Linked DNA regions of Homo sapiens: all the other regions are linked to region 3. The links are contacts of gene promoters, found by promoter capture Hi-C in human tissues and cell types (Jung and others, 2019). All regions are on one chromosome and are shown on one strand. Each heading gives the region's core, a stretch centred on a gene start or on the middle of the fragment in contact. The rest is flanking DNA. Distances are from core to core; before and after follow the strand shown.

What was found. Contacts are between HindIII fragments. The study calls those that stand out against the background at their distance.
Region 1: a fragment that was not itself captured here is called in contact with the fragment with the promoter of PAPPA in region 3 in 1 of the 25 tissues and cell types used here (lymphoblastoid cells).
Region 2: a contact is called between a fragment that was not itself captured here and the fragment with the promoter of PAPPA in region 3, in 1 of the 25 tissues and cell types used here (mesendoderm cells).
Region 4: the fragment with the promoter of TRIM32 here is called in contact with the fragment with the promoter of PAPPA in region 3 in 1 of the 25 tissues and cell types used here (hippocampus).

The regions. Positions count from the first base shown.
Region 1 is chr9:115,566,450-115,573,941 of GRCh38, forward strand. No RefSeq gene overlaps it. Among named protein-coding and RNA genes, the nearest start is that of LINC00474, 360 kb to the right of the region's middle. The HindIII fragment of the contact is 5,684 bases long and covers 3,270-7,492 here.
Region 2 is chr9:115,610,928-115,618,335 of GRCh38, forward strand. The region is part of intron 2 of LOC105376235 (a long non-coding RNA gene); the gene reads left to right. Among named protein-coding and RNA genes, the nearest start is that of LINC00474, 310 kb to the right of the region's middle. The HindIII fragment of the contact is 3,865 bases long and covers 433-4,297 here.
Region 3 is chr9:116,151,248-116,158,380 of GRCh38, forward strand. PAPPA (pappalysin 1) reads left to right here and starts at 2,544. Exons shown (of 22, transcript NM_002581.5): 1 at 2,544-3,340. The coding sequence starts at 2,926. RefSeq lists a silencer at 4,321-4,410 and enhancers at 5,271-5,772, 5,773-6,272. The HindIII fragment of the contact is 11,414 bases long and covers 1-7,133 here.
Region 4 is chr9:116,684,011-116,691,817 of GRCh38, forward strand. It overlaps TRIM32 (tripartite motif containing 32), which reads left to right and starts at 3,295. Exons shown (of 2, transcript NM_012210.4): 1 at 3,295-3,371. All of the region lies in intron 16 of ASTN2 (astrotactin 2), which reads right to left. RefSeq lists enhancers at 2,962-3,281, 3,722-3,771 and a silencer at 3,352-3,551. The HindIII fragment of the contact is 20,788 bases long and covers 1-7,807 here.

The DNA.
Region 1 (7,492 bases), core at 4,862-7,361, 580 kb before region 3:
GTGGTCTCAGATGGAGATAAGGGACTTGTTGGGAACTGCAGTAAAGATGACTCTTGTTATGTTTTATCAAAAAGATTGGCAGCGGTGACTCTTGTTATGTTTTAGCAAAAAGACTGGCAGCATTTTGCCCCTGCCCTAGAGATCTGCAGAACTTTGAACTTGAGAAAGATGATTTAGGGTATCTGGTGGAATAAGTTTCTTCCTTCCTTCCTTCCTTTCTTCCTTCCTTCATTCATTCATTCCTTCCTTCCTCTCTCTCTTTTTCCTTCCTTCCTTCCTTTCTCTCTCTCTCTCTTTCTTTCTTTCTTTCTTTTTTTCTTCTTTTTTGGAGTCTCACTCTGTCATCCAGGCTGGAGTGTAGTGGTGTGATCTCGGCTCACTGAAACCTCCACCTCCTGGGTTCAAGCAATTCTCCTGCCTCAACCTCCTGAGTAGCTGGGATTACAGGTGCCTGCTACTATGCCTGGCTAATTTTTTTTTTTTTTTGTATTTTTAGTAAAGACAAGGTTTCACCATGTTGGCCAGGCTGGTTTCAAACTCCTGACCTCAAGTGATCTGCCTGCCTCAGTCTCCCAAAGTGCTGGGATTACAGGCATGGGTGGAAAAAGTTTCTAAGCAGCAAAGCATTCAAGATGTGACTTGCGTGCTGTTAAAGGCATTCAGTTTTATAAGAGAAGCAAACTATAAAAACTCAGAAAATTTGCAGCCTGACAATGCAAAAGAAAACTTCCTTTTCTGAGGAGAAATTCAAGCCAGCTGCAGAAATTTGCATAAGTAAAAAGAAGTTGAATGTTAATCCCCAAGACAATGGGGAAAATATCTCCAGAGCCTGAAAAAGGTCTTCATGGCAGCATCTCTCATCACAGACCCAGAGGCCTAGGAGGAAAAAGTGGTTTCATGGGCCAGGCCCAGAGTCCCCATGCTGTGTGCAGCCTAGGGACTTGGTGCCCTGCGTCCCAACTTCTCCAGCCATGTCTGAAAGGGGCCAATGTAGAGCTCAAGCTGTGGCTTCAAGGGTGCAAGCCCCAAGCCCTGCCAGCTTCCATGTGGTGTTGAGCCTGCCAGTGCACAGAAGTCAATAATTGGAGTTTGGGAACCTCCACCTAGATATCAGAAGATGTATGGAAATGCCTGGAGGTCTAGGCAGAAGTTTGCTGCAGGGGTGGGGCCCTCATGGAGAACCTCTGCTAAGGCAGTGTGGAAGGGAAATGTGGGGTTGAAGCCACCACCCAGAGACTCTACTGGAGCACCATTGAGTGGAATTGTGAGAAGAGGGCCACCGTCCTCCAGACCCCAGAATGGTAGATCCATCAACTGCTTGCACTGTGTGCCTGGAAAAGCTGCAGACACTCAATGTTAGCCCATGAAAGCAGCCAGGAGGGGGACTATACCCTACAAAGCCACAGGGACAGAGCTGCCCAAGGCTGTGGGATCCTACCTGTTGCATCAATGTGACCTGGGTGTGAGACCTGGAGTAAGAGGAGATTATTTTGGAGCTTTAAGATTTTACTGCCCTGCTGGATTTCAGGCTTGCATGGGATCTGTAGCCCCTTTGTTTTGGTCAATTTATCCCATTTGGAATGAGTGTATTTACCCAATGCCTGTGCCTCCATTGTATCTAGGAAGTAACTAACTTGCTTTTGATTTTACAGGCTCATAGGCAGAAGGGACTTGCCTTATCTCCGATGAGACTTTGGACTGTAGATGTTTGAGTTAATGCTGAAATGAGATAAGACTTTGGGGGACTGTGGGGAAGGCAAGATTGGTTTTGAAATGTGAAGATATGAGATTTAAGGGTGTCATGGGCGAAATTATATGATTTGACTCTGTGTCCCCACCCAAATCTCATCTTGTAGCTCCCATAATTCTCACGTGTTGTGGGAGAGACCCAGTGGGAGATAACTGAATCATAGGTGCAGGTCTTTCCAGTGCTATTCTTATGATAATGAATGGGTCTCATGATATCTGATGGTTTTAAAAACGGGAGTTTCTCTGCACAAGCTCTCTCTTTGCCTGCTTCCATCTATGTAAGATGTGACTTGAACCTCCTTGCCTTCTACCCTGATTGTGAGGTCTCTCCAGCAATGTGGATCTGTAACTCCAATAAACCTCTTTTGTTTTTTTAAATTGCCCAGTCTTGGGTGTGTCTTTATAAGCAGCATGAAAACAGACTAATAAACTACCCAAGGGAAAAGAAGTAATTATATGAAAAAGACACACGCACACATGTTTATTGCAGAACAATCTGCAATTGCAAAGATATAGAACCAACCTAAGAGCCCATTGACCAATGAGTAGCTAAAGAACCTGTGCTATATAAATAGGAAGATACATATTTCATCCCTTTTTATGGCTGAGTAAAATATATACATATATATATATCTTCCTATTTATGGCTGAATACTACTCACCATAAAACTGAATGAAATAACGTCTTTTGCAGTGATTTGGGTGGAGATGGAGGCCACTATTCTAAGTGAAGTAACTCATGAATGGAAAACCAAATACCATATGTTTTCACTTATAATTGGGAGCTAAGCTATGTGTACACAAAAGCATACAGAGTGATATAAAGGACTTTGGATACGCAGAAGAGGGAGGTTGGGAGGGGGTTGTGAGATAAAAGCTGCATATTGGATACAATGTACACTACTCAGGTGACGGGTGGACTAAAATCTCAAAATTCACCACTATATAATTCATCCATGTAACCAAAAACCACTGGTACACCAAAACCTATTGGAATATCTATCTATGTATCTATGTATCTATGCATCTATCTATGTATCTATCTATCTATCTATCTATCTATCTATCTATCTATCTATGTATCTATCTATCTATGTATCTATCTATCTATTTTCTGTATCTATCTATTTTCTGTATCTATCTATCTATCTATCTATCTATCTATCTATCTATCTATCTGGAAAGGTGAAAAGTGAGACAGAGCTTAAGTCATCAGACAAATAAGAAGAGGAATAATTTTAGACAAAGAGGATATTATGAAGATATATTTTGGAAGTAGAATTGAGTATGCACAGAAAGAACAGAGGTAGAGAAATCACTAAAAATGTTTAACAGCATACTTGAGCAAGAAGAAGGTTTAACCAGTGAACTTGAAGTCAGGTCATGCACAACTTTCCAGAGAAACAGAAGATAAAAAAAAGAACGAAACATAATAAAGAAAGCTTATGGGACTTAAGGGGCACTACCAACCTTATCAATAAATGCATGATCAGAGACACAGAAAGAGAAGAGAAAGAAAGAGGAACAAACAGTTATAAGAAATCATGGCTGAAAATTCAAATATGAAGGAAACTGACATCCAAATTCTGAAAGCCAAAGCTTCCCAAATAAGATAAATCTAAAGATGACAAAACCAAGATGCATTATAATTAAATTATCAAAAGTCAAAAAAAAAACTTTATTCCTTTTTTTTTTGGAGACAGAGTCTTACTCTGTCACCCAGGCTGGAATGTAGTGGGGTGATCTCAGATCACTGCAACCTCTGCCTCCTGAGCTCAAGCGATTCTCCTGCCTCAGACTCCTGAGTAGCTAGGACTACAGGTGCACACCACCATGCCTGGCTAATTTTTGTATTTTTGGTAGAGACAGGAGTCTCACCATATTTCCCAGACTGGTCTTGAACTCCTGAGCCTAGGTAATCCGTCCGCCTTGGCCTCCAAAAGTGCTGGGATTATAGGCATGAACCACTGAACCCAGATGAAAAATAATTTTAAAAGCAGTAAGTAGAAAGTGAGTTGTCACATGGAGAGAAATTCCATCAGAATATTACTGTATTTCTCAGCAGAAACCTTGCAGACCAGTAGGTAGTTGGATGATATACTGACAGTGTTGACAGAAAAACAAATACAAGAAATGCTAAATAAAGTACTTTAACCTGAAATGAAAGCACACTAAACATATGAAAGCCCATGAAAGCATAAACTTTGCTACTGAAGCTTAATATATAAGTGAATACAGAATATTCTAATACTATAATGGTGGGGTATAAATCACTTTTAATTCTGATGAATTTAAAAGACTAAAGTATAAGTATAACCGTCTAAAATATGTTAATGGATATCCAGTATAAAAACATAATTTTTTACGGGTGTGGTGGCTCATTTCTGGAATCCCAGCACTTTTGTAGGCCAAGGCAGGAAGATTGCTTGAGCCCAGGAGTTTGAGACCAAACTGGGAAACATAGTGAAACCTTGTCTGTACAAATAAAAAAAATTAGCAGGGCATAGTGGTGAACACTTGTGGTCCCGGCTACTCTGGAAGCTGAGATGGGAGGACTACTTGAACCTGGGAGATAGAGGCTGCAGTGAGGCGTGATTGCACTATTGCACTCAGCCTGGGGAACAGAGTGAGATACTGTCTCAACATAAATAAAATAAAATACAAAACATATAATTTGTGACATTAATAATATAAAGTGTGTGTAGAGAAGGAAAAGTGTAGAATGTTTGTATGTGATTGAAGTTATCATCTTAAAATAGATTGTTTTAAGTATAACATGTTTTATACTCAGCAGTAATCATAAAGAAAACGCTTATAGAAGATTCATAAAAGAAAATGAGAAAGAATTCGAAAGGTATCACTTTAAAAAATGAACCAGAAGAGAAGACATCAAGAGAGGAAAAGAGAGACAAGAGAGCTACAAACAGAAATAAAACAAGTAACACAATAACAAATATCCTTCCCTATCAATAATTAGAAAGAATCAGATCTGAGTAATATTAAGTGCCCTTTGCAATGCCTGCCACAGAATTCAGTAAACAGCAGTTTTCCACGCTTCCATGCCTAATTTTTCCCACTTTACATGTGCTAAGGAAAGGGAATGAATCTCACTCATTTTTTATTTGCAAGACTGGAAAAATGTCTAATCTCAAAAAAATATTTCTTGGATGAATAAAAGAGAAGCTCCAATTTATTAAAATCACTGCTCTTAGATAAGAACTAATTTTGGCCATAATTGTGGAAGGAAAGGGAATTAATTTAGCAGATTCATTTTCTGTGTTAAATCAGCTGCTGAACACTTTACCAATGTTTTGTCATTGAAGTCTTACAACAAATATATGAGATAAACATTAAAACATTTTTCTTAAGAGCACTCAGAAAATTTATAATTGCTCATTTTCACCTAAAATTTGTTTTTTATACTACCTGTGTTAATCTCATATTAGAATGTTTGATGGATATACTACCAGAACTCTAGTTCCATTTTGGAAAAATTATTTGAAATAAATGCCTTATTCACACAAAAAAATCATTAATCAATTGGACTTAAATTTGGATTAATAATTTTAATGTTATTAAAATTAAGCATTTTGTTTGTTAAAAGACAGTATTAAATGAGTGATAAGATCAACTACATGCTAGTATAATATATTTACAAACATCCAACCATAGACTTATGAACAGACTTTATAAGAGACTTCTACGAATCAATACAAAGGTAATACAACAACGGAAAAAAAAATACTTCATGAAAGAACAAAATATACATATGAAAAGTACACAAATTCACTATCAGAGAAATGCAAATAAAACCACAATAAGATACCTCTACACAACCAAGACGTTGGCAAAAAGAAAAGATCAGAACTTACCAAAGTTGGTGTGGGACAGGGTTTCTTAACTTTAGTACTCTTGAAATTTTTGGTTACATAATTATTGTGCGGAGCTGTCCTGTGCATTATAGGATGTTTAGTAGCATCTTTGACCTCTACTCACTAGATGCAACAGCAGCCCCTGCCCCCTCCCCCTGCCCAAGTAATGACAACAAAAAATGCTTCCAGATATTGCCAAATTCCCCTGGAAGCAGCAAGATTTTCCTCACTTCCTCTGACTGAGAACCATATGCACTGGTAGTGGAAGTGTAAATTGGCATCTACTTCAATATTATCTAACAAACCTCAATATGTGCATAACCTGTGATCCAAAACCTGGGTAGGTATTTTAGCCCAAAGATTAGTACAACAAGATTCACAGAAGCACTACTTCTAATAGCAACATACTGGAAACAATCTATAAGTTCATGAGTAGAGGAATGAATGAATCCATATGCATATAATGAGTATATACAGTAATGACATACACAGATCTCACAAACATGGTGTTTAGCAAAAGAGGCCAGGCTTATAAAGAATATAACATTTCAAAAATGGTCAAAACTAATGTATGGTATTAAAAGTGAGGATAGTGGTTATTCTTGGAGGGAGGAAGGTAATGACTAGGGGGGATGACAGGGAGGGTGCTTGGTTTTTCATCTGGTTTAACATTACAAGTATTTGTTCACTTAGTAAAAATTAATTGAGCCTTGCGCTATGTTTTATGTAATTGTTTGCATTTTGGTTATAATTAAAATTAGTACCAAAGGGGGAAAAATATTCAAGAACTAGAACTCCAGGCAGCCCTGGCTTGTCTACTTCTCTTTTCTTTCCAAGTCTAGGTTTAAGCAGGCTTTTTTTTTTCTTTTTTTTACAGCTCTATTGAGATATAATGGATATAAAAATCTACATATTTAGTCTACATTTTGATGAGTTTGGAAACATCTCTACACCATGATACCATCACCACAATAAAGCTACTAACCCTGTCCATCACCTCTGGAAATGTCCTTGTGTCCTTTGTGTGTATGTATGTATGTGTGTGTGTGTGTTTGTATGTTTGCGATAAGAACACTCAACATCGGATTTATCCTCTCCACCTAAAGTGCACAATACCTTACTGCTAACTCTAGGTTCTATGATATATAGCAGGTCTCTAGAAATTATTTATCTTGCGTAATTGAAAATTTATACCCGTTAAGTTACAATTCCCCATTTCTTCCTCTCTCCACCCACTGGCAACAACCATTCTATTCCCTACTTCTATGAATTTAACCATCTTAGGTATTTCACATAAGTATAATCATGCAGTATTTTTCCTTTGATGACTGTCCTATTTCACTTAGCATAATGTCCTCTAGATTCATCCATATTGTTGCAAATGGTAAGATTTCCTTCTTTTATTGAGACTAATAATACTGCATGAATGTAAATGCCACATTTTCTTCATCAAGCAGAGTTTTATTGTTCTGTCCCGCAATCACAAAAATGTTTTTCCCAAGGACTATAATTGCATCTGCATTTAGATACCACTGTTCTATTACTTGAAAGTTTCTGTCTACCTGAATATTTAAGGGCATGAGCCTTGACACCTGTCAGCTGGTAGAAAGAGGAAGTTGCAGTTGCATATATTATCTAAATGTCATTCATATCTGTATGTCTCCTACTTTTTATTGATTGGAATCAATTGAGGGCCAGGCATGGTGGCTCACACCTGTAATCCCAGCACTTTGGGAGGCCGAGGCAGGCTGATCATGAGGTCAGGAGATCAAGAGCATCCTGGCCAACATGGTGAAACCCCATCTCTACTAAAAATACAAAAATTAGCCAGGTGTGGTGGCATGCACCTGTAGTCCCAGCTACTTGGGAGG
Region 2 (7,408 bases), core at 1,115-3,614, 540 kb before region 3:
TTGAATATTGTATGTCAACATGAATGCAACAAATGATTATAATCCCCTTTAAAATAATATTATGCAACAGAATATCCACAACAGGAAAAGTCTATTTATTATTATTATTATCATTATGGACATTTGACAAAAGAGGAAACTGAGACTCAGAGGTTAAGGAAGTTGCATATGGGAAGATCTAGGATTTGAACTCCATTTTGTCCGACACCTGAATCTGTGCACAAAAAAAGTAGATTGTAACCATGAACCCTTTCCTCTTCTGGGGAGAATTTCACTGTCTGATGTACCTGTAGTGCTCTGTTTGGGGACTGCTTTGAGTATGAAGCAGAGCTATCACTTTTAACGACTTAATCTACTCTAGTCTGAAATATACCAGATCCCTTCTAGAAGAGCAAAGGGAAACTAAAAATTCCCTAAAAATAGAAACCATTGTTTCTCAGAAGAAAAGTTCACTTTATAGACACACTGTAGGAATCGCTCTGGGGTTTGTTTTACTTTTTTTTCATTGCTTCTTTCTTTAAGGAAAATAGAGTCATAATTGCTAAGATTTATGCAGGAAAATTCACCCTAGAGATTTCAAACAAGTTTGCAGACTTTCTTAACCTCCTCAGCTACCCCCTTGGGGTACCTCTAAATTGCTGTCTCATTAAAGAAGAAGTGCCCTACCCAATCTTTGGGGGAGAATGCATTCAGCCATTTCTCAGATGTATTGTATATGTAAGAAACGGGCTGGAGTTGGGGAATCTTCAGGTATTAGATCATCTCATTTATTCCAACTCAGGGAGATTGTTCCCAGTTGGATATCTCAAGTGTTGTGAGTGGCGGCTAACCTGAAGAACGTCACATCTGTTATTTGAAGCCAGTCTTTGAGAAGCAAAAGCTACTGATGGAATGTTACTGCTTTTTTTTCTTTTTTAGATGATTTTCTGCAATTTCACTAAATGGTGGTAAGAAAAACATAGAGATCATAACTCTGGACACAGTATTAAGACTAAATTATGCTGATTTTATTATCTGATGCTAAAGTCAATGCAGACACTTTGTGCCCACTCTCTGTCCTTAGCTGTTGAGGGAGGGAGGAGTTGAAGAAGGAAGGAAAAGTGGAGAAATTTGAAAAGATGGAAGAGGATCCTTCCTCGTTTTTTTCTGACTTTGTAACCAGTGTTATCCCCATCCATCTCCTAACACAGCTCTCATTTTCTTCCCTGAACTTCTAGTATAACTGAGGATTTAATCTACTCAGACAGTGGTAGAATTGGTTGCATTTTCTCTTTTATTGTGTTTGCAGTGGGTGTACAACATGTCTTCATTAACTCTCCATGACATTCAGAATAGCTTGAGATAAAAAAAGCACTCAATCAAAAAGTAAAAAACAGTCTTCTGCCCTCCCATTTCCAATCACAAGCATCCCCTAGGGCATGTATTAATTACTGAAGATGAATGCTAGACCTTCATTCTCAGCAGGGTCCTTCAAATTTTATTGCTCTGTTGGGTCAGAAGATGGTGCTCCATCTTGCAAAATGGTAAGGAGTCTCAACTTCTTGAGGAAGTTCCAGCTAATAATGTCCTTTGTTACCGAGTGCCTACAATATGTCTAGCATTATTAGATTCTTTTTATGAATCAACCCACCTAATCCCAATATCTACCCTACAAGACACATTATTATCCCCATTTGCTGGATGGAGAAACTGATTCCAAACCCCTGACAATTTCAGTCCAGTAAATGGCTCTCTGTGGTTCAAAACTGAGGGGGGTCTGTAGTTCCTCAAAGTAGTCTGGTGTCAATGAAGACATTGCCACAGTATTTCCATTGTTGAAGCCTGTTGGGAATTGAGAAGATGGTTCTCAAATCCCAGTTCATGTATCAACACTCTGAGGAAGTTTTCTTGGCTGCAAACAAGATGAAACTGTTTTCTTTTTCATATTAAGTAGGGGTGGTGGGTGACTGTCCCAAAAGTAGGCAATTTTCAGGTGGAGTTAACCTGATTTTGCTTAACTGCTGTATTGCCAAAGTACCTTCCAGATAGCCCCATTTTCTCTCATTCTTGCTCTACCTCATCCGAGCAACTTCAGTGTCCCATAGATCAAGCTAAAGAGCTATTAAGAGCCCAGAAAGGCATCATTTATCACTATGTTTTCTTGGGAACACTAGTCTCAATTTTTTTATTGATTTGCTTGATTTTGGAATAACACATTTGAGAAACCCTATATGTCTCCCCTTCCCAAGTTTCATTTGTTATCTCAAGAAACATGTGCTTTTTGAAGATTTTGAGATGTTCTGCAGAAAAGCAAAACAAACACACAGAAGAGAAAACACAAACAAAAAACATGTTTACTTTCATTTCACTTCTAGCTCCTCTCCTCCCCTCTTTTGTTTTCTGCTCTGGAAACACCTGCTCATATCTCTTGGAACTATGGCTTTCCAGAGAACATCTTCAGAATTTCTCTGCCAAGGACTTTTCAAAGTTACCATCATAAATCCCAAATAAAATAAGGATTTTACTGATTCTCTAGATAGATGTACATTCTCCCTCTTTTGAAATCCTATGTCACTTTATTTTTACAGCTCTTTTGGCTTGTAGATTAAAGATGATAAATTAATGGAAAGAAACATGTAAAAACAGATTAAGATAATCACTATTTCCTATCTTATTCTTTTTTTGCTCTCGTTTTCTCTGATTACAAATAAATATATGTTCATTATATAAAATTCAACTACTATACAAATGTAGAATTCATATGACGCACCTTGGGTTATGCCAAGACTTAATTCTCCCACAACAGTGTAAGCTTCCATAATGGGCATCCTGACACCAGGAACATTGTAGATCTTTAGGAAAGGAGAGTAGAATATGGGAATGAATTCTACTTGTATTCACTCAATCATGAGCTTTGTACGAATACAGACCTAAATCCTACTCATTTTTGTCCCCCAACACCTTGCTTAGTGCCTAGTGCATAGTAGACTTCAATAAATCTATATATATATTTTTCTTTGAGGCAGGGTCTGACTCTGTTGTCCAGGTGGTGTGCAGTGGCTCGATTACTGCTCCCTGTAGCATCAACCTTCCAGGCTCAAGCCATCCTCCCCCGTCAGTCTCCTGAGTATCTGGGACTACAGGTGTGTGCCACCATGCCCCACTAATTTTTGTAATTTTTTTTTTTTTTTTTTTTTTTGAGACAGAGTCTCGCTCTGTAGCCCAGGCTGGAGTGCAATGGTGTGATCTCAGCTCACTGCAAGCTCTGCCTCCAGGGTTCACGCCATTCTCCTGCCTCAGCCTCCCGAGTAGCTGGGACTACAGGTGCCCGCCACCACGCCCGGCTAATTTTTTGTATGTTTAGTAGAGATGGGGTTTCACCATGTTAGCCAAAATGGTCTCCATCTCCTGACCTCGTGATCCACCCACCTCGGCCTCCCAAAGCACTGGGATTACAGGCGTGAACCACTGCACCCGGCCATAACTTTTTTTTTTTTTTTTAAATAGAGACAGGATTTCGTTTGGCCAGATTGCTTTCAAATTCCTGGGCTCAAGCAATTCACACACCTCAGGCTCCCAAATTGCTGGAATTACAGGCATCAACCACCATGCTGGCCATTTGCTACAATCATTTGCACTTGAGTATTGCTCCTGGGCAGCCCTTGAGGAAGGTCTCTACACTTAGAACCAGACACATCTATGTTTGTGTTCCCATTCTGTAACTGAGAACCCCAGTATCTGCATCTATTGAATGGGGTTAATGCTACAGCTTTAAGAATTGCTATATAGCAACTCAAAGCTGTAGTATTAACCCCATTCTATATATATATATTCTTTGTAAGTGCTGGAGGGCTACTCAAGTTTGCTATTTTTATGATTATGAAGAATGTGATCTATTCCTGACATGAGTTATTTATTTAAGTAAACAAGCATTAACTAAGCATTTCCTCTATGCCAGGGAGATAAAGAGATAATGATAAACTGATATGGTAAGTGGTGACTGTCATGACTGGGATAGGTAGAGGATGCTTTTGGATTACAGAGGAGAAATGATTCCCAGTGGCATTGGTGCCTCAGGTGAAAGAATTGAAGGTCTGTGTTTGGATGAAGGACCTTCCAGGCAGAGGTAATAGTTAAAGCAAGACATAGAGATGAGTAATAAATACATGTGGAGGAAAGTACCCAGTCCCAGTGGGAATGTCAGACACGCAGCCCTGTGATCAACTAACCACTGCCTACATTATGTGATATTGTATACAGCCTTGGAAAAGAAGAAGCCAAGGATACTTTATCATGTATGTTGCCTCCTGTTCATTATGTGATAGAGCATGGCCCCCTCCTGCTAACCCCATGAGGATTACAAGAGCTTAGAGAAGTCAGCTGACCAGCATTACATAGATAGTAGAGGTCAAGGCTAGGATTGCAACTACGACCTAGACCAGATGGTCCTGTCCATCACGTTTTCTGCCTTAACACATGTCTCCTCATCTACCCTGAATTGAAGAGAGAAAGGGATGAGAATGCTTTTTCCTGCCATAAGTCTTCCTTTTGTAGTAGACTAGTGAAGGACACTCAGTCTGAGCTGGGTTTTTGCTCCAAATGTCTAAGTTAAGTTGACTGTGGCTGCTGTAGAAGTGGGGTCCCATGAAACCTGGCTTGCTGATTGTAATTAATCACAAGGCAGAAAAGGAGCCCAAGCTGTTAGAACACCCAAGAGGCTGTGGATTAGGAGTTCCAACAATTCACATTTGCAACTCAGTGTCTCCGAAAGAGACTGGAGCTTTGGAAACTCCAGAGCTCAGCAAAGATTCTGAGGCTTGGGAGCCTTGTCCTTTTGGATACCTTACCCCAAAGAGCTCTCCAAGCCCCTGACATTTGGGGGATTGTCAGAGCTCTGGGCCGCCAGAGAAAGGCCCTGTCTCAGAAGCCAAAGTCATCAACAGAAAAGGAATTGAATGAGCAGGTTTTGCAGAGGCTGGAAGAGAAACTGTTTCAAAAATCTGTTGTGACTTTTGCAGACACTGCCTTTCCCTCTGGCCCCATAATTGAATGAGGCTGGTGATGCTTATTCACCTCTTAGTCTATGGCTGAGTCACCTCCTTCTCATCAGAATGTTATGAGTATGCAGAAGAAAGTAAGCAACCTCACAAAATGTTAGAGTGATAGTGGTGTTGGGGGTTATGGTTATTACCCCCAGGCAAATTCCAGAAGAGTCTCGCACCTAGCTACTGAGACAAAAAACAATAGTACATATGAATCTGACCTAGATGACTTAGGCTTTCTTTTGGTGGGAGAGTGAGGGGAATCTATCTGTACAGAAAATAAGACAGCAATGTCTCAGTCATTAGGCTCCCTTTTTTAAGCAAATAAAATATCTATGAAAGTACCTAGCAAATTCTTGGCAAGTACCAGTTGCTCCATATCTTCATATTTGTTTTTGTTTTCATTTTTGTAATCTCTTCTACTCTCTATCCAGTTTCTTTCCTCTGATTATATTTGCAAACCCTAAGTTCTAAAGAGCTACTCTGAGCCAAGGGTCATGTACAAGAATAGTGCTATTGGTACAGATGCAATGAATCTAATCAAATTATTGTTGTAAAGACGTTTCCCATTTCCTTAAGAATAAAACTGAGGCTGAAGGGTGAAATAATATTGCCTAAAGCTACTCGGTAAGAAAGCTGTAGAACTGGAATCCAGATCTGTGAATTTGGCCGTTTGTTGCTCTGTCAGCTGTTCTAACAACTCTGCAGATACCCAAGGTTACAAAGCCAGTAAAATGAATTGCATTTACTCTGGATTCAGAAGTAGTTAGTATCTCAATAAGCTTTTGAGGAGCCTGGAAATTTGACTGCATTTTCAAGGAAACCAATAATATGTTTTCATTTCACCAATTTCTGCAGCACCAATGCTGAATGGCCATTCATTTCCATTACATTCATATTCTCCTCCTTCAAGGAAGGAAGGAAGGAAGGGAGGAAGGAAGGAAGGGAGGGAGGAAGGAAGGAAGGAAGGAAGGAAGGAAGGAAGGAAGGAAGGAAGGAAGGAAGGAAAGAAGAAAGGGAGAGAGGGGGCAGCAGGATGACTCCATGCATGTGTTCAGGCCATGGTGGGGTAGAAGGACTGGCTTAAATTTATCGGTTGCTGGCTCAAGCTCCTAGTACCTGCCTATGAAGCGTGTTGCTGTAAAATTGTAAACAGGAGTAAAATTAGATCTCTACATAAGACCTCTCATCAAGGATGGATAGCAGTGCTGTGCATTTGATCCTACTGAGAGGCCCATTAGGCTCTGAAGAAGAAATTACTCCCTGTCTTAGTGTTAGTTGAAATACATCTAAAGATTAGTTGAAATACATCTAAAGATTGGTTGTGCAGATCCTGCAGAAGTAAATACTGGGCATTTGGAGGCTATAACACATATCAAGAAAGAACATTGAGGTTATAAGGAAAATCTTACTACTAATTTAGCCCAATCTCTTCCTTTTACAAAGGAGAAAATAAAAGGACAGAGCAGGAAAGTGACATGCTCCAAGGTTATACAGTGAGTTATCAACAAAACAAGGGTGGATATCCCAGTTTCTATAGTTAAATTTTATGGGCTATGTGAGCCTTTAGGGGCACCAAGTATCAGTGTGGTTCATTATAGAAGCTCTGTGGACTGGACAGGAGCTGGCCCTTTCTTTTCCATTTATTTTCCATGTTGACATATAATCTAGAAGGACTTTTGTGGTCAACGCTCATTTCTGTGGATAATATTCATTTTCAGTGCCCTCTCTGCCTCTCTTACAGGGTCTGTCCCTTCACCCTGTCCTTCCATAACAATGATTGTAGCTTCCTCTTTTATTTCGTTGGATTTTTTTTTTTTCCACAGAGCTGCACTGGTTGGGTCACTGAAAAGTCTCATTCATTCAAAACCGGAAGCCTAGCCAGGCACAGTGGCTCACACCCATAATCCCAGCACTTTGGGAGGCCAAGGCAAGAGGATCGGTTGAGCTCAGGAGTTCAAGACCAGCCTGGGCAACATAGCAAGACCCCATCTGTATTTTTTTTTTTTTGAGACAGAATCTTGCTCTGTCTCCCAGGCTGGAGCGCAGTGGCATGATCTTGGCTCACTGCAACCTACGTCTCCTAGGTTCAAGAAATTCTCCTGCCTCAGCCTCCTAAATACCTAGGATTACAGGTGTGTGCTGCCACGCCTGGCTAATTTTTGTATTTTTAGTAGAGATGGAGTTTCACCATGTCGGCCAGGCTGGTCCTGATCTATTTTTTTTTTTTTTTTTTGAAAATTCAGAAACCTAAGACCGTGCTTAGATACTAATACTCTCTTGGCACATCCACTTCAAAAGATGAGGGGAGAGGAAAGTAAGATGGGGAAACAGAGAAAGCAGATACAAGACAGTCCACTACTGCTCTATCCCCAACTTCACAGAAC
Region 3 (7,133 bases), core at 1,294-3,793:
TGCATAAAGAGTTAGAATGGCTTCCAAGACAGATGGAAACAAATAGTAAATGTATGTTCAATGAATGGATGAGTGAAATGTCTTGCCAAATGATCCCAGTGCATTTGAGGACGGAGATCAAGGAGTTCAAGGACCCATAAGACATGAACTTCGTTGTCCCTTCGTTTTCCTGCCTCCTACAGGAGAGAAATAACTTGGCCTCCTCAATTCTTGTTTGTCTTTAAGAACCTGAGGAGCACTTTGTCTTTGACAACAACAATAGAACAAATGGTATTCGTATATCATTTTTATTGTTTACAAAAGATTATACCCCAGAGCATATCTTGTCCTCAAAATAAATTTGCCAAGTAGATATTCCCATTTTAAAGGTAAGGAAGTGGAAGGGAAGAGAAATGAAGTGTCTTACTCAAGGCCAGTGAACTGATATGTGTTGGAGGGAGTAGGAAATGAGAAGTAAAAATCTTGTGCTCCCACTGCTGGTCTGAGAATTGAATAATTCCCAGTTGTCTAGGAATATTCAAAATTATTGTATACAATGACTTAAAATCCCCCTGGAAGACATGCAGTTTCTAAATGCCTAATTGCCACAACTGAAGTAAATCAGTAGTCATGGTCCAACCTCTATTGGAGAGGAAGGGGGATTTTGAATGATACAATTTATGTTGTTCAACATAGCTCTCTTTTTATCCAATGGCAACCTTTTACAGATGACTTGGAGTTGCAAAAAGTCAAAGATTTGCTTAGGCAAATTCTTTATTCATGACATTGTGCACCCAAGATTTTCTTTCCTCCAGCCAGTCTCTGGAAACACATTTAGGGTATTGTGCTATTTTCATTTTATGACTACAGAAACAGAGTTCAAACGTTCTTAGTCTAAGACTATTCAGCAACTTCTTTCTAAACTAGGAAGGTATGAATCTGAGATCTCCCATTTTCAGAAAGCTTCCATAATCTTTGCATATATCGCATTCCAGCTTTCATAGAGGGGATGTCTGAGTCATTTGCTCATCCGACAAATCGTCATACTTTTGCCAACAAACATTCTTCCTTGGTTTTCTCTCTTCCTGAAGCGTGTAGCAATGTTCCTAGCTCTCAAGAAAGATCTGGAGCAGCTCGGAAGATAAGAGCAATTGAAGAAGAAAGTTACAATTTAGTGGAGTTAATTTTATCGCAGACTTTCAGCACGCTATTCACATGCAAACTTCACACAGAATATTTTTATCACTACCTTATTGGAATAGATTGGTAATTAATAGCTTGTAATCCACCATTGCTAACATGTTTTGACTTATTAAACACTTGGACAAAATAAAAGAAGATCTGTTTTGCCATAAGGGGGAGCTTTTGAGTTCTATAAAGAGGGGGAAAAAAGAAGAAAAAAATATATTACATGTATGTCCCAGTTCAAAAACAGACCTACAAAGCAGCAAATGGTCAGATCCTTACCTGTGACTTTAACAATTTCAGAGGACCTGAATTGCTTAAGTTGAAAACATTAGGCAAATTAATATTTTTCTCTCATTTTCTTCTTATAAAATTAAAATAATTTCTAATGACCAACAGAGTATTTTAAAGAGTATTCGGGGAAATTCAGAGACCCAGTTGTACTAGGACTACAGCTTCTGAAAGGCAGATGTCCTGGACAGTGCCTTTCTTCTATTTTCTTCTGATGATTCCATAAGAACTTTGGAAACATTTGGGTTAGCTGAAGCCAGCCTTATCTGGGGGCTCAGAAAAGAGGGGAATGGTTCATCATCGTACAACTTTAAGGAAATTCTGAGAGGGAAAAGGACAGGGAAAAGAAGAGGGAAAGAGGTAAAGGGAGAGGAAGCGGGAAGAAGAGTAAGGGAGAGAGTGAGAAAAAGAGAAAGAGAGGGAGAGGGAGGGAGGGAGAGACAGAGAGAGAGAATTAAAAAAAAAAATCTAAGAATCAAGTTTCAAGACTCTTTATGTGCTACAGAAAAGGATGAGGTTTACCAGCAAAGTGCAAAGGGGATCCTAAGAGAAGAGACAGATTTTTCTCCTGCCATCAGAAATAATAATAATAAGTGGGGGGAGTGAGGGAGGGAAAAAAAGCAAGCAAAACAAAACAAAAACAGGAATGTGTGTTTTGAGCAGGAATGAGAGCTGGGAGGACCGTAAGGGGGTGTGTACAGAATTTCATTAAATTGTTACTTTAAGATTGTCTCCTTAAAAAAAAAAAAAAAAAAAGAGAGAGAGAGAGAGAGAGAAAAGGAGGGGGTGGTGGAGAAGCGGGAGCGAAGGAAAGGAGGCAAAAGGCAAAGTGAAGGAAAGCTGGATAGCTCGGCCTCTCCAAACTGATTGATTAGTCATGATCCCCGCAGTTTTAACAGGGACTCATTCAATTGGGAAGGTGGAGCGCTGGGGAGCAGATTAGCATACGCTTGTTTACTCATCTTCTGAGGGATTTTTTCCCCCTCTTTCCTTTCATTTTGAGAAGAAGGAGGGAGGGGAGGGGGGACTTGGGGGGGGAGAAGGGGGCTGTGGCTTGTGTTATAAAGGACGCAAAAAATAAATAAATTAGAGCATCTTTTGGGGGGAGGGAATTCAGCGGATCAGTCTTAAGAGGAGCTTTTTTTTGGAGCGAGAAATCATATAAAATAAAATGAAATAAAACAAGGAGGAAGGCAACCAGCTGTTAGGGGAAAAATAAGGCAGATAAAGGAGCGGGGAGAGAAATTAATTGCCAACCAGGAGGAGTTGGGCTGTATTTTTCAAAGGTGGGGAGAGTGGAGCACACACCTTGAGGAGGAAAGCGAGAAAGAAAAGAAAAAAGCAAGTGGAAAGGGGGGCTCGCCCAAGAAGGGTGAAGAAGCGAAGAAAGTCGAGGCGCCGAGGCTCCCAAAGCTGGCAGCTCCGGGTGGCGGTGCAGGGGCGAAGGGGGGGCGGGGGGAACCGTCGGACATGCGGCTCTGGAGTTGGGTGCTGCACCTGGGGCTGCTGAGCGCCGCGCTGGGCTGCGGGCTGGCCGAGCGTCCCCGCCGGGCCCGGAGAGACCCGCGGGCCGGCCGACCCCCGCGCCCCGCCGCCGGCCCGGCCACCTGCGCCACCCGGGCGGCCCGCGGCCGCCGCGCCTCGCCGCCGCCGCCGCCGCCGCCGGGCGGTGCCTGGGAAGCCGTGCGCGTCCCCCGGCGGCGGCAGCAGCGGGAGGCGAGGGGCGCCACCGAGGAGCCGAGCCCGCCGAGCCGGGCGCTCTATTTCAGCGGGCGAGGCGAGCAGCTGCGCCTCCGGGCCGACCTCGAGCTGCCCCGGGACGCGTTCACGCTGCAAGTGTGGCTGCGAGCGGAGGGGGGCCAGAGGTCTCCGGCAGTGATCACAGGTAGGTGAGGGCGCCTCGGCGGGCGCTGCACCGTCCCTGCGGCCCCAGAGGCTCGCGGGTGTCTGGGCGCGGGTGGCGGGCGGGTCGGGGGCTTGCGGGCGTGTCTGTGCGAGAGCTGCCCCGCGAGCGGCGCAGAGACATCCGGGCGAGCTGAGAGCCTCACTTTGCTCCATCGGTGGAATGGGCACACTCGGAAGGCGTAGCTGCTCCATCCCTGGGAGGAACCTGGGGAGCCCTCCTGGCGGCCCCGCGGACCCTCGGCCAGTGAGGGCTGGTTCCCGGAGCCTAGGGCACGTAACCCGTGCTCCGAATGGTCAGATGCACTCTCTCCTTTTGGGATGAAAGGGAGGATGACCCAATTGAGATGCATGTGAAAGGAGACTTGGGGACCGTTGATTTCTTTGACGTTTTAATGGAGGTAACTCCCCTTCATTAGGCCCCATTCCCCTGAAAGCCGGCAAGGGCAAGGTTGTTGTAATGGCCAGGACTTAGAAGTCCTCGAAGTGCCCCAAAGTTGCTCACTGATTGAAGCCTGCCTCTGGGACTCACCCTCACCCCCTCCACGCCATCCCATGTCCTAGCTTTTAAAGCCCATTGCCTGTCACTCGGGGCTGGGACGAGACCTTCCTAACGCATACCCCGCCAGCGTTCCCCAGACGCGGCTGCGAAACGGGGCGCTTTTCTCATATGGGACTTTATGAGCCCGTAATGAATTTGAGTTCTCCCTCCTCAACCTCCCTCTCTCTCCCCTTCGCTGTTCCACAGCAAAGCCTATAGTGAAATCGGACACTTTGCGAGGATTGCAAACCTTAGAAATGCTCCAGCATCCATTTTCCCCCCTCTAAATGAATCTGTGGAAATGCCTTTAATAAAACTGGGGAGCGGAGGTGGGGGCGGCGCTGGAAGAGAGGAGGAAAGTTTTGCCTTTTCTGTCTGGGAGATTCCCTTTCTGCACAAACAATCTTGCCATGTCCTGGGACGTCTTAAAGTGAGAGTAGGGGTTCCCCCTTCACTGCAGCCAGGAAACGTGTGAAGGCGTTTTGCGATCCCACCCCCTCACACACACACTTTCTTAGAAGGGAAAGCTGTGAGCTCTCCGGGCAGTTCTGCTTCTTCCTGTCTTTCCATGGCTTGGACTTTCACAGATGTAGCACTGACTATCCAGTTGACATGAAGACCCCTTTAGGAGACCCACACTCTGCTGCTATCCCAAGAATACGTCTCCCGAAGCCCCCGCTTTCCAGCTATCAAAGGAGAGCGATACAGTGATTCCCCCCAACAACCCACAACTGACGTCATCGCATGCTATTTTTCCTTTTTTTTTTTCCTCCGGGAAGAAGAAGGAGACTGAACTCATTCACTTTTAACTCGCAAGCCCTATTTGCCCAGAGGAGGGTCTAATTTGGAACAGAGGAAACGTTATCCATAATAATAATGACGATGGTGATAATTTAGAGCTGTAGTATGTTGACTTCTCTTTCCAAACATGTGAAAAAGCAAAGAGACTGCTGCTTGGAGGTGATTTTTTTTTTTTTTTAATCTGTAGGTCTGGTTTTTCCTAGTCTTTACCTAGTACCAGTGATTTGGAAGGCATTCCCTGGAGAGAGGAGAGCACAGGGTTATGCAGGCATCATCAGTGAAAGGGTAGTGAATGCATTTTAACTATGTAAGTGTGTCTACATAAATACGTGTGTGTGTGTGTATATATATATATACATGTATATATATGTGTGTATATATATATGTGTATATATATATATGTATATATATATATATAACACCTGGGATTCCACAGGAGACTGCTTTATAAATGTCTATAATTCAGACAAGGAGCCTCTCTTCACACACATTCTCTTGAGCACTCATTCACTCTCTCACACAAAGATTGTTGCAGTAAAATACTTTAATTGGATGGGGGGCGTTAGGTTATTATTGCTTGTATAAAATGCCTGGTCCATTTTATGTGTAGAAATAACATTCCTCTCAAAACGAAAAAAATAAAATAAATAAATAAGCACTGCTGTCGTGTAGCACCAGAAAGCCAGGAGCTTTTCCCCTGAGGATTCTGGTGGATTTCTTTTCCCTCCCCTAGTTGAGTTGGAGCCAGATTTGGCGGCGTGTAAACACCTGGCTCTGAGCCAGAAAAGACTCATTCTGCATATCCTCCACATGGTACAGGCTGTTGGACTAAAAAGAACCTGCTTCTCCTTGAATTAAAAAGCAAACAAACAGAGGTTCTTTGCAGAAGTACTTTTTCAGCTCCCTCCTTCGTGTAAGTTTGGGCTGGGAGAGCCAGGACCGAGGTGGGCAGCAAGGATCGGGTGCGAAGGCTCACCCTCTCGCGGCGACCTCAGGTGCCCAGTTTGCTGCCTGACCTCTGCTGGCTTTCTCTGGCTGGGCGTTGCCACTTTCCTAGGAATCCCTGGTCACCTATCTTGAGAGAGCAGTCATCGCTCAGCAGGGACCGCGCTGCTATTTCAGGCAGAGAGTTGCTGTCTTGCTGTCAGGCCAGGCTGCCTTACATCACTCTTTGCTGCAGGATTCAATTGGGTTTCGTAAAGGTCTAATTTTACGGTGCTGTTAACCGGGTCTGTCGTCTGGCAGAGGCAGGCCTTGCCGCTCCTGGTAGGCGGGCTATGCTCCCAGATCCGCCCGGGATGCTATTTCTGCCCCGGTTCAAACTTCACTGACACCAGTTCAGACAGGCGCTCGGAGAGACAGGGGGAAGGAGCGAAGGAGCAGTTTGCTTCTGAAGCTCAGAAAACATGCCTTTTATTTTTCTGAAAGGAAAGGAGAAAAATATATATACTAATACATAAAAAAAGGGAAGGCTTATGCAGGCAAAAACAAAGCCAAAGTTAGAAAGTGCCTATGTGTAGGATTCTCTGGAGGGTCCACCAGTGGATGGTCTTTAGGATTGAAGAATCCTTTAAGGCTGCTGTGAAAAGGGTCCTCAGAGGTTACCCAAGCCAGTTTCCCTTTTGGCCGAATGGGGAGAGAGACACACAGAGAGGGGAGGGGTGTGTGCTGGATGACACAGCTCCTCAGCGGCAGGAACTAGGATTTAATCCCTGGCATCTGACTTCCAGGCCTTGCCCCCTGCACCGCTGAGAGAATGTGTCTCATAAACACCATCACCTCTCACCCCACACGGACCCACCACCCACACACAGCCTTCAGCCTTCATGCATAGCAATTTGGGCTCCCTTTCAAGTCAGGGGATGAGGGGTTGTTTCTGACACATCCCTTTGCTTTTGTACCACACCAGGCAGGAGGAACCAGACCCCTGTTCCTCATCCCCAACTGCCCCCCCAACACCCCTCCAGTTTGAAAGAAAAGGAAAACAAAAGACTCAATTTGCTCCATCGAGCAGAGGCCTTGAGCAGCAGTTAATCTTGTTAAAGTTTCTCCTGACCTGTTAGATAAGTGAAATGTGGACCCCACAAGTACTGCCCTCCTCCCACCCCTGTCCCACTCCCCTTGCCTTAGTGATTCGGAATTCCTGCTCAGAAGGAGAAAAGGATTTACCTGAATCCCATCCAGCACCTCTGCTTGCCAGCCTTTTTTCTTTTGTTCTAATGGTTGGACTGGATTAAGTGTGCTGGTTACTCCCAAGAATCTTTTTTTCCTTCCCTTCTGCACCCCCACTTCCTAGTATCCACCCAACCCTCAAAAAAGAGTACCCACATTTTCTCCACTTCAGCATTGCTGTAACAGTGAAGGCTGGGTTTAAGTATATGGCTAGGAGTCCATATATTAACAAGGCTTTTCCCCAGTATCTGTAGTCCTACCT
Region 4 (7,807 bases), core at 2,045-4,544, 530 kb after region 3:
CCTGTACAAGGTTCCTGACCTGTGGTAAGTAAAGAATGTCACTTTCTAACAGGCCCAGGAACCCCAAGTTATTTTGGGACCTTGAGAAGAGAGGAATTTACCCAACTCATAGGTATTTGAGGATACAAACCCATGGCTGAGCTTGGCTTTTAAAAACTCTTATCTGAGATTCCTCATGGAACAGAGTTCCATCAAAGCTAATTTAAACAAAAAAGACCCTAAGTGAAAAATAATTATTCTTGCTGCACTTTATGCAAATAATCAGGCCAAGTATAGTAAGACTAAAGTACATTTCTGTAAACAAATCAGTTCTATCATGATTTGTTTTTAATAAAAATGGGGTCTGGAGAGAGAGAAATTATGCTTCAAGAGGAAACCTATTGTTAGCTGTTGTTAGCTGTCCTTGAGTTTTTTCTACAATTTTGACTAAATCCTAAATTATTTGTGGGTTGGAAGTCGCCAGACTAATGCTTTCAAATCTTTGCTTTTAAAATTGAGTATTGTACTCCTCATCCTAGGACTCATTATTTACCTTATAGTAGGCTGTTCACCTAAATACTGTACTAAAACTATAGATGAGAGTACTAATGTTTTTGCCATGCAAGCCTTAGAAGCCCAGCCAGACCTGCATGAGTCGCTCAGACACTTGAAAGTGGTCCCACTCTTCTCACCTTGGGGTTGACTCCCATTCCCACTACGTCCCCTGTCAGCAAGAAGAACCCAGAGCAATCGACAGCCTTTTCCCATCTTCATACCCTACACTTTAAGATTAAGGTGTTACAAAACCCAAAGTGATGGACTGAAACTGCCTTTGCAAAATTATGATTGAGACAGTAAAAGAGATCTAACTTAACTGACTCCATCTTGCTTCTAACTTCCAAGCTGTCCTTGTTCATTCCTGGGCATAGGCTGAACTAACTTTGGGAGAAATTTAGTCTGTAGTTCATAGTTTAAACAAAGACAGTAACAACCCTATCCCAAAGCAGACCTCCTTGCCTGGGTACTAGATTGCCTTTGTAGGACTAACATTAGCCACAAGATTAGAAATTGCGGTTTAGGAGTCATGCAGCTGGAGGTTACAAGATGCTGAGCCTCCCTAAAATGCTTCTGAGATCAGTGCTTGAGATATTTTGCAGACCCTGCACTTGATGGATCAGCTGGCACCACCCAGATCAATAAACTCACTCATCTGATCTTGTGGCCCCCCCACTCAGGAACTGACTCACTGCAAGGAGACAGCTTCGACTCCCTATGATTTCATCCCTGACCAACAGCGCTCCTGGCTCACTGGCTTCCCCCAACCCACCAAGTTATCCTTAAAATCTCTGTTCCCCAAATGCTCAGGGAGATGACTTGAGTAATCATAAAACTCCAGTCTCCCGCACAGCTGACTCTGCGTGAATTACTCTTTAACTATTGCAATTCCCCTGTCTTGATGAATCAGCTCTGTCTAGGCAGTGGGCAAGGTAAACTCCTCAGGTGGTTCCACTGATATAGGTGATTTAAGTGTTAAATAAAAATCTGTTACATTAAAATGCTGAATAAAGAGTGTTTAAAGCACTCCACAAAGATTATTTTTTAAATGCCTCTGTGTAAGAGGAATTCTAATATTGTGCCAGGATATGTCAAGCTATAAGATAAAAATTGAGTGCATTTCCTAGAATGCTTATTCTACTCTAAGATTTTGTGAGAGGTATAATAATTCATTTAACTGGTAATAAACATTAAAGAAGAGTCAAACACTGATTTTTGTTTTAAGGGAGAAGAGAGATTTTTTTTTTTCAAGACACTTGCTTGAGCTAGATCCCCAGGAGTATTTTTAACACTCCTCTGTAATTAGGGAAACATCAGTATGTCTGTATTGATACATATACACACATATATAATATGTATATATGTAAGACTATGAACAGTCCTAAATTTATACTTTGGGCTGATAACTGTGGTTTTCAGGAAAAAAAAAAATTTTAAACGGGTGCAAAGTCTCCCCAACTGGTCTAAGTGAGAAATCATTTGGCATTACCTCTCCCTTATCCCCTACCTGCTAATTACAATTTTTCAAATATAGTTATCATTAAGTGCAAACTACCATAATCTTGGCTTATCTTCATGGCAAACTTCAATTAGAAATTTAGAAAATGGGGAGAAAGAGTAAACAAGGTTAAGAGAGTGGGTTCTCAGATAGAATTGGGTACAAATTTGGGCTCCAACACTTAGGTATATGTGGCCTTGTGTAACCACCTAGGTTACACAACAGGTGTAGGTTAACCATCAGCTGCCTTATCTCATTAGGTCCTTATGAGGATTTAGTGAGCTATGCACCTGAAGTCCTCAGCTGTAGCCAGACAGCAAGTGTTCAAAGATGTTAGTCATTGTTTTTGTTTATTGTTTTATCATTGTGCAGGGTCACATAGCTAAGGGGAATTTCAAATCCAAGTCCATCCTACTTCAAACTCCTTTGTGCTCCTAAGCTGTACAGTATAGTCACCTTGGAGAGTAGGTGATTGGCCCCAAACTACTTCAGGGACTGCAGGTCGTGGCCAGCCAGTCCTGTATCAGACCTCGTCCTTGCCAGATGCCTAGTGCCCCAGATTCCCTCAAATCTCAGGCCAGATCACCTCCCACCTGGTAAGATTCCTCCACCTTCACCCGAGCAAAACTACACTTGGTTTGGGTTCCCGGGTACCTTCAGTCTGCAGGGACAGGGGCTGCAGAGTGTACTCCCCAAGTCTGCCTCTGCTGTCGGCCTCCCAGCTGAGTAGGCAAAACATTCCTTTACAGAGCAATGTGTTCATGGATAAACTTGTCTCTAGTGCAGCTCTCTGTCAGAGCACAGAACATGAGGCCAAAGCACTGCCCTTCCTAGGGAGTCCCGGTTCTCGACTTCCCCAGAATGGAAGTTTGATTTTTCCGTTGGCCCATTTCTCAGATGGAAAAACAGATTCAGTAAGGTGCCAACGCTTTGCTGAGGACTACCCTGGAGGCTACCGTTTTGTGAAGGGGTAGACATTGAGACTGGAGTCAGATACGCATTCTGGCTTATCTCCTGACTTACTGAGTGAACTTGAGCAGGTCCCTTTCGCCCATGGGCGTCGGTTTCTTCATCTGCACCAAGGAGACGGAAAACTGGATTACGTGTCGCTAAGGCCCCGGGTTCTCAGAGGAAAGCTCACCCCTGCAGGGCCGCCTTGCCCCGCGCGCTTGGGGCCAGCTGCACGACAAGCCCCAGCATGCTGGGGAGGCGGGGCTCAGTGACGGACAGGGAGCTCTGCGAATTGGCGCCCGGCAAGGGGTGCTCAACGGCGCGTGCGCAGAGGGAGGCAGGCGGGTGGGCTGCCGGCGGTGGACTCGTCGGAGCCGCGGGCGGTCAGGTAGGGGGCGGGAAGGAGGGTTGGGGACTGGGGACCGCGGCCGGAGTCGTGGGCCGTGGCTCAGCGGCCAGGCGGGGGAACGTGCCGGCGTGCAGCGGCCGCGCCCGAATGGCAGGGTGTGGGGACCGGATCTGGGGGGGGCAGGACTAGGGTGGGGGTGGGGCTGCGAGGGGCAGGCTCGGGAGGGATTCGTGGGGCTGAGGAGATCCGAGGAGATGCAGCTGGGGGAGGGGAGCGAGGGGCTCTGAAGAGATTTGCGGTTGCAGCATCTCGGGAGGTATGAGGTAATGTCGGGGCCCTGAGGAGGAACGGGGTGTAGCATGTGGGAGATGGGAGGGAATCAGGGCCCTGGAGGGACCTGGGTGCAGAATTTCAGAAATATGAAGGAACTGGGGGGCCCCGATGAGATTTGAGGAAATCTGGGGGCGCTAGGCATCTGGCAAGGACAGGGTCTGAGATGATAGGAGCAAGGTCTAGGGCGATCCTAAGTGCTATTGAGAAAGGGTTTTCGGAGTGGGCTGAGGGTGAGATTGAGGGGGTGGGGTGAGTTCTTGAGGGACTCTATCTTGTTAGCAGAAAGAAGGGAGCTGGCTGAGGTGTGAAGGCAGCACATGACATTCAGTGCATAAGAGGAAGGAGCAGGGTATGAGGGCAGCACAGTGCCCGATGGAATGCAGGAGATGGGGGCTCAGATTGAGGGAGAGCAGAAATCTGGGGTGAGGAATTGGGGCGTTGAACTGAGGTGCGGGGCTGAGTGTGGCAGAGATTTGGAAATAGGGATTAAACGATCTGAGTCCGAGGGATTTGGGGCATATGAGTGAGGAATTGACGAGGGTTGCAATATACAGCCCCAAAGATTGGAATTTGGAATTGTAAGAGGGTTGGGGACAGGGTTTGGAGAGGATTGAATCGTGGGGTGGAGATGTCCTAACTGGGCTATAAAATCAAAGGACCCTGAGTAGATTTGTGGATTGGTGTCTTGGGCTGCTAAAGAGATTTTCCTTAAATCGCTGCATGGGAGACAGAGGGAGTTCAGGGGACCCAAGGACCTAAAAGTAATGTATGAAACTGGATGAGTATATGAAGATGAGCAGAGTTCAGGTGCTGAGGAACAAAGTGATAAATCTTCAGTTCAGATAATCCTGAAGGAGTGTGGTAATCCCTGTGAAGGGCAGAATCTTCTTCATTTATTAAACAAAGATCCGTTATCATGAGGCAGGTATGGTATTGCCACTAACTCCATTCTGACCACCGGTCCCCCGGCCCACTGAAAGTGGTAGGCTTTGGGGAAGAAGAAGTGGAACTATTCAAGGTCATCTGCCTAAGCCCTTTTTCCCTGTACCCCCAAGCTACGATAGCAGATAGAAAGTGAGACCTCCAGGGGAATGAGTGGAATAATTTATCCTATATAAGATCCATTACAGCTTGAAGGGGCAGTGGCTCTGTGAGTGAGGTGTTTGGGCTCGGAGACAGACAAAACAACAACAACAACCACCAGAAAAAAAAAAGGGAACCCTTAGGTATTGAGCATTTAGTCCTGTGCTAGACTGTAAAGCAGTGGTTCTTAACCAAGTCTGGCTTTGTCTCCTAGGAGACATTAGGCAATGTCTGGAGATGTTTTTTGGTTGTCACAGGGTGGGGGATACTACTGGCCTCAAGTGGGTAGATTAAACATTAAACATAATGTTTTATGTTAAACATTTGACAATGTGTGGGATACGCCCTTCCCCCCCGCAGTAAGGAATTATCCTGCCTAAAATGTCAGTAATGCCAAAGTTGAGGCACTCTGACCTAGAGTCAGATACCCTGGGTTCAAGTCCTAGCTCTATCTCTTCCTGACTTTAAGTCCTAGCTCTATCTCTTCCTGACTTTGTGGCCTTGAATGAGTTACTTAACCACCCAGTGCCTTGGCTCTTCATCTGTAAAATGGGGTTATGATAACAAGACCAATGTCACAGAATTGTTGTGAGGATTTAGTGAAGTAAACTAGCATGCCTAGGATCTGGCACATAGTAAGTTCTCAAAATCTAGTAATTTTTAGTCTTGTATCTACTTCTTTACTCAGTTTTCATGACAGTCCTTCTAAGTAGGCTCTACTGTATTCAGTTTTACACATGAGGAAACTAAGGCTTAGGAAGTGACTTGCCTAAGTTTCCATAGCTAGGAATGACACAGTTAAGCTCATACCCAGATCTCTGTAACTCCGTATATTCCCGCTTTCCTTGCTTCTTCCTTGCTAGGGCCTGCTTAGTCTTATTTTCTCAGCCCATTCCCCTCTAATGAAAAAGAGGATTGCCAGTGAGTATCACTGACTATCAGATTGAACTCTAAAGTTGGGGGGTAAATCTCTCTGATTAGGTAGGGAGGAGCCCTGGACTTTGTTCTTGGTTTGCCCTTAGACCAAGACCTGGGGCTAGATAAGGAGAGGAGCCTGAGGTTATCAGGCAGGATGAGGTGCAACGGACTATAGGGTGAGGTATGGAGGCCATTGGCTTGAAAAAACACCTCATAGCAGGGACTGAGGCTGAAGGCAGTCATACTCTGAAGGAGAGTAACTACTGTTCTGTATGGTCTCTTTTGGTCTGCTTTTCCCTGGAACAGAATTTGGCTCTATCATTTCCAGGACTAGCTACAGGGTTGCTGAAGCCAGTTCAGAAACAAAGCTAGACTGTGTCTGACAGCAAGACTTAGCTGGAATATCTGTGCACATCCCTAAAAGAAAATATGTCATGGGAATTAAATCAGCCCTGTCTAAACTCCTTACTCTAATTTCCTATGTTACCTTGTCAGTAGCTACGGCACTTGTCCTGTCAGCCTCAATCTATTAAAAATGCAAATGATTATAATTTGTTGAGTGCTTATTATGTGCATTATCTTAGTGAATTCAATCCTGCTAACAGTCTAGGTTTTATTCCTTGTTTACAGATAAGAAAAATAACAGGTTAAATGACTTACCCAGGGCTACAGAGCAAGTAGCTAGGTTGGGATACAAACCCAGTTCTGTCTTACACCTATGTTACATTATAGTAGTTTTATTAGAAGCCTTTTCCAACCCTTCAGAGCCCCTATGTTTATGTCTGGAGAATAGTTGGAAGCCAGAAGTTTATAAGGCCCTTAAAGTAGATCATTGTCTATGCACACTGATGTGTAACCTTTGTGACATTCCCTCCATCTTGTCTTTCTGGTAAAACAATCAAATTTAAAAATCATTTCTAGGTGCCCTTACCAACCTCTCAGCCAGACTTTGTCTAAAGCTAGGGAACTATGAAACATCCTTTAAGTTAGTAATTTTATGGCTGGGAGTTGATACTGGGATTTGAATCCTTGCTCTATTACTTATTGGTTTTGAGACCTTGGACAGGCTACTTTCTCTGAGCATTGGTTTCCTTATTTTTGAAGAGGAATCACACTTACTTTACATGGTTATTATGAGACTATGAGAACATATAAAAAAATGCCTGACAATAAATAGTAGTTGCTTTAAGAGTGTTAGCAATTATGAGAGGAAGGCAGTGCTGGAAGAGAACTAAGTGTTGCTTTGTCATATTTATTTATTTATACAGGGTCTTGCTGTGTCACCCAGGCTGGAGTGCAGTGGTGCAATCACAGTTCACTGCAGCCTCAACCTCCTAGGCTCAAGTGATCCTCCCATCTCAGCCTCCCAAGTAGCTGGGACCACAAGTGCATGCCACCACACCTGATTATCTTTTAAATTTATTGTAGAGATGGTGTTTCACTCTGTTGCTCAGGCTCTTTGCCAGATTTTGATAACCCTAAGTAGTCTCTGCTAGTCTCCCCAAAATTCTCATCCCATTTTGTATATTTCCTAGGATCTCCTTGATCCTTTAATCATAATCTCATGATTAAATGAACAGATGTTATATGCAGAGAAAGGAATTGAAAGAGAGAGAGGGTTGAGGTTAGTTGGAGGTCCCTGAGAAGGGGCTATTGATTTTTCCTTTGTCTTATATTCCTTGAGTCATACTGGCAGCGTAGGTACTACTCAAATGTTTGTGAAAGATGCAAGGGAGTCTTTCTAGGTCCTGCAGTTTTAGAGGAAGACAGAGACAACAGGCAAGCATGTTTTCCAGGAAACCCTATTATTCATTTAGCCTGCCCTTGACATAGTTTAGCTATGTTTAACTTAGTAATTTAGCTAAAGTTTTCTTTCTCTACAAACATACTTCCTTCTGGATCGTTTTGTTTGCCCCAGACTGGTACAACTTCAGGAGCATGCCTGTGTTTCCCTATAAGCCCCTACTTGTTGAGTTTATCTTAGTTGTCTGCAGGTGCCTTAAATGCCCTGAGTAATCTAAACTTCATCAGAATCCTCTCCCACACACAGGAGTGGATGTCAGGTGATGACCTCACTGAATTCGTTAAAGTCAGTCCTGCTAACGAGTGGCCTTTGGTGGCACAGTGATAGTTTTGCACTT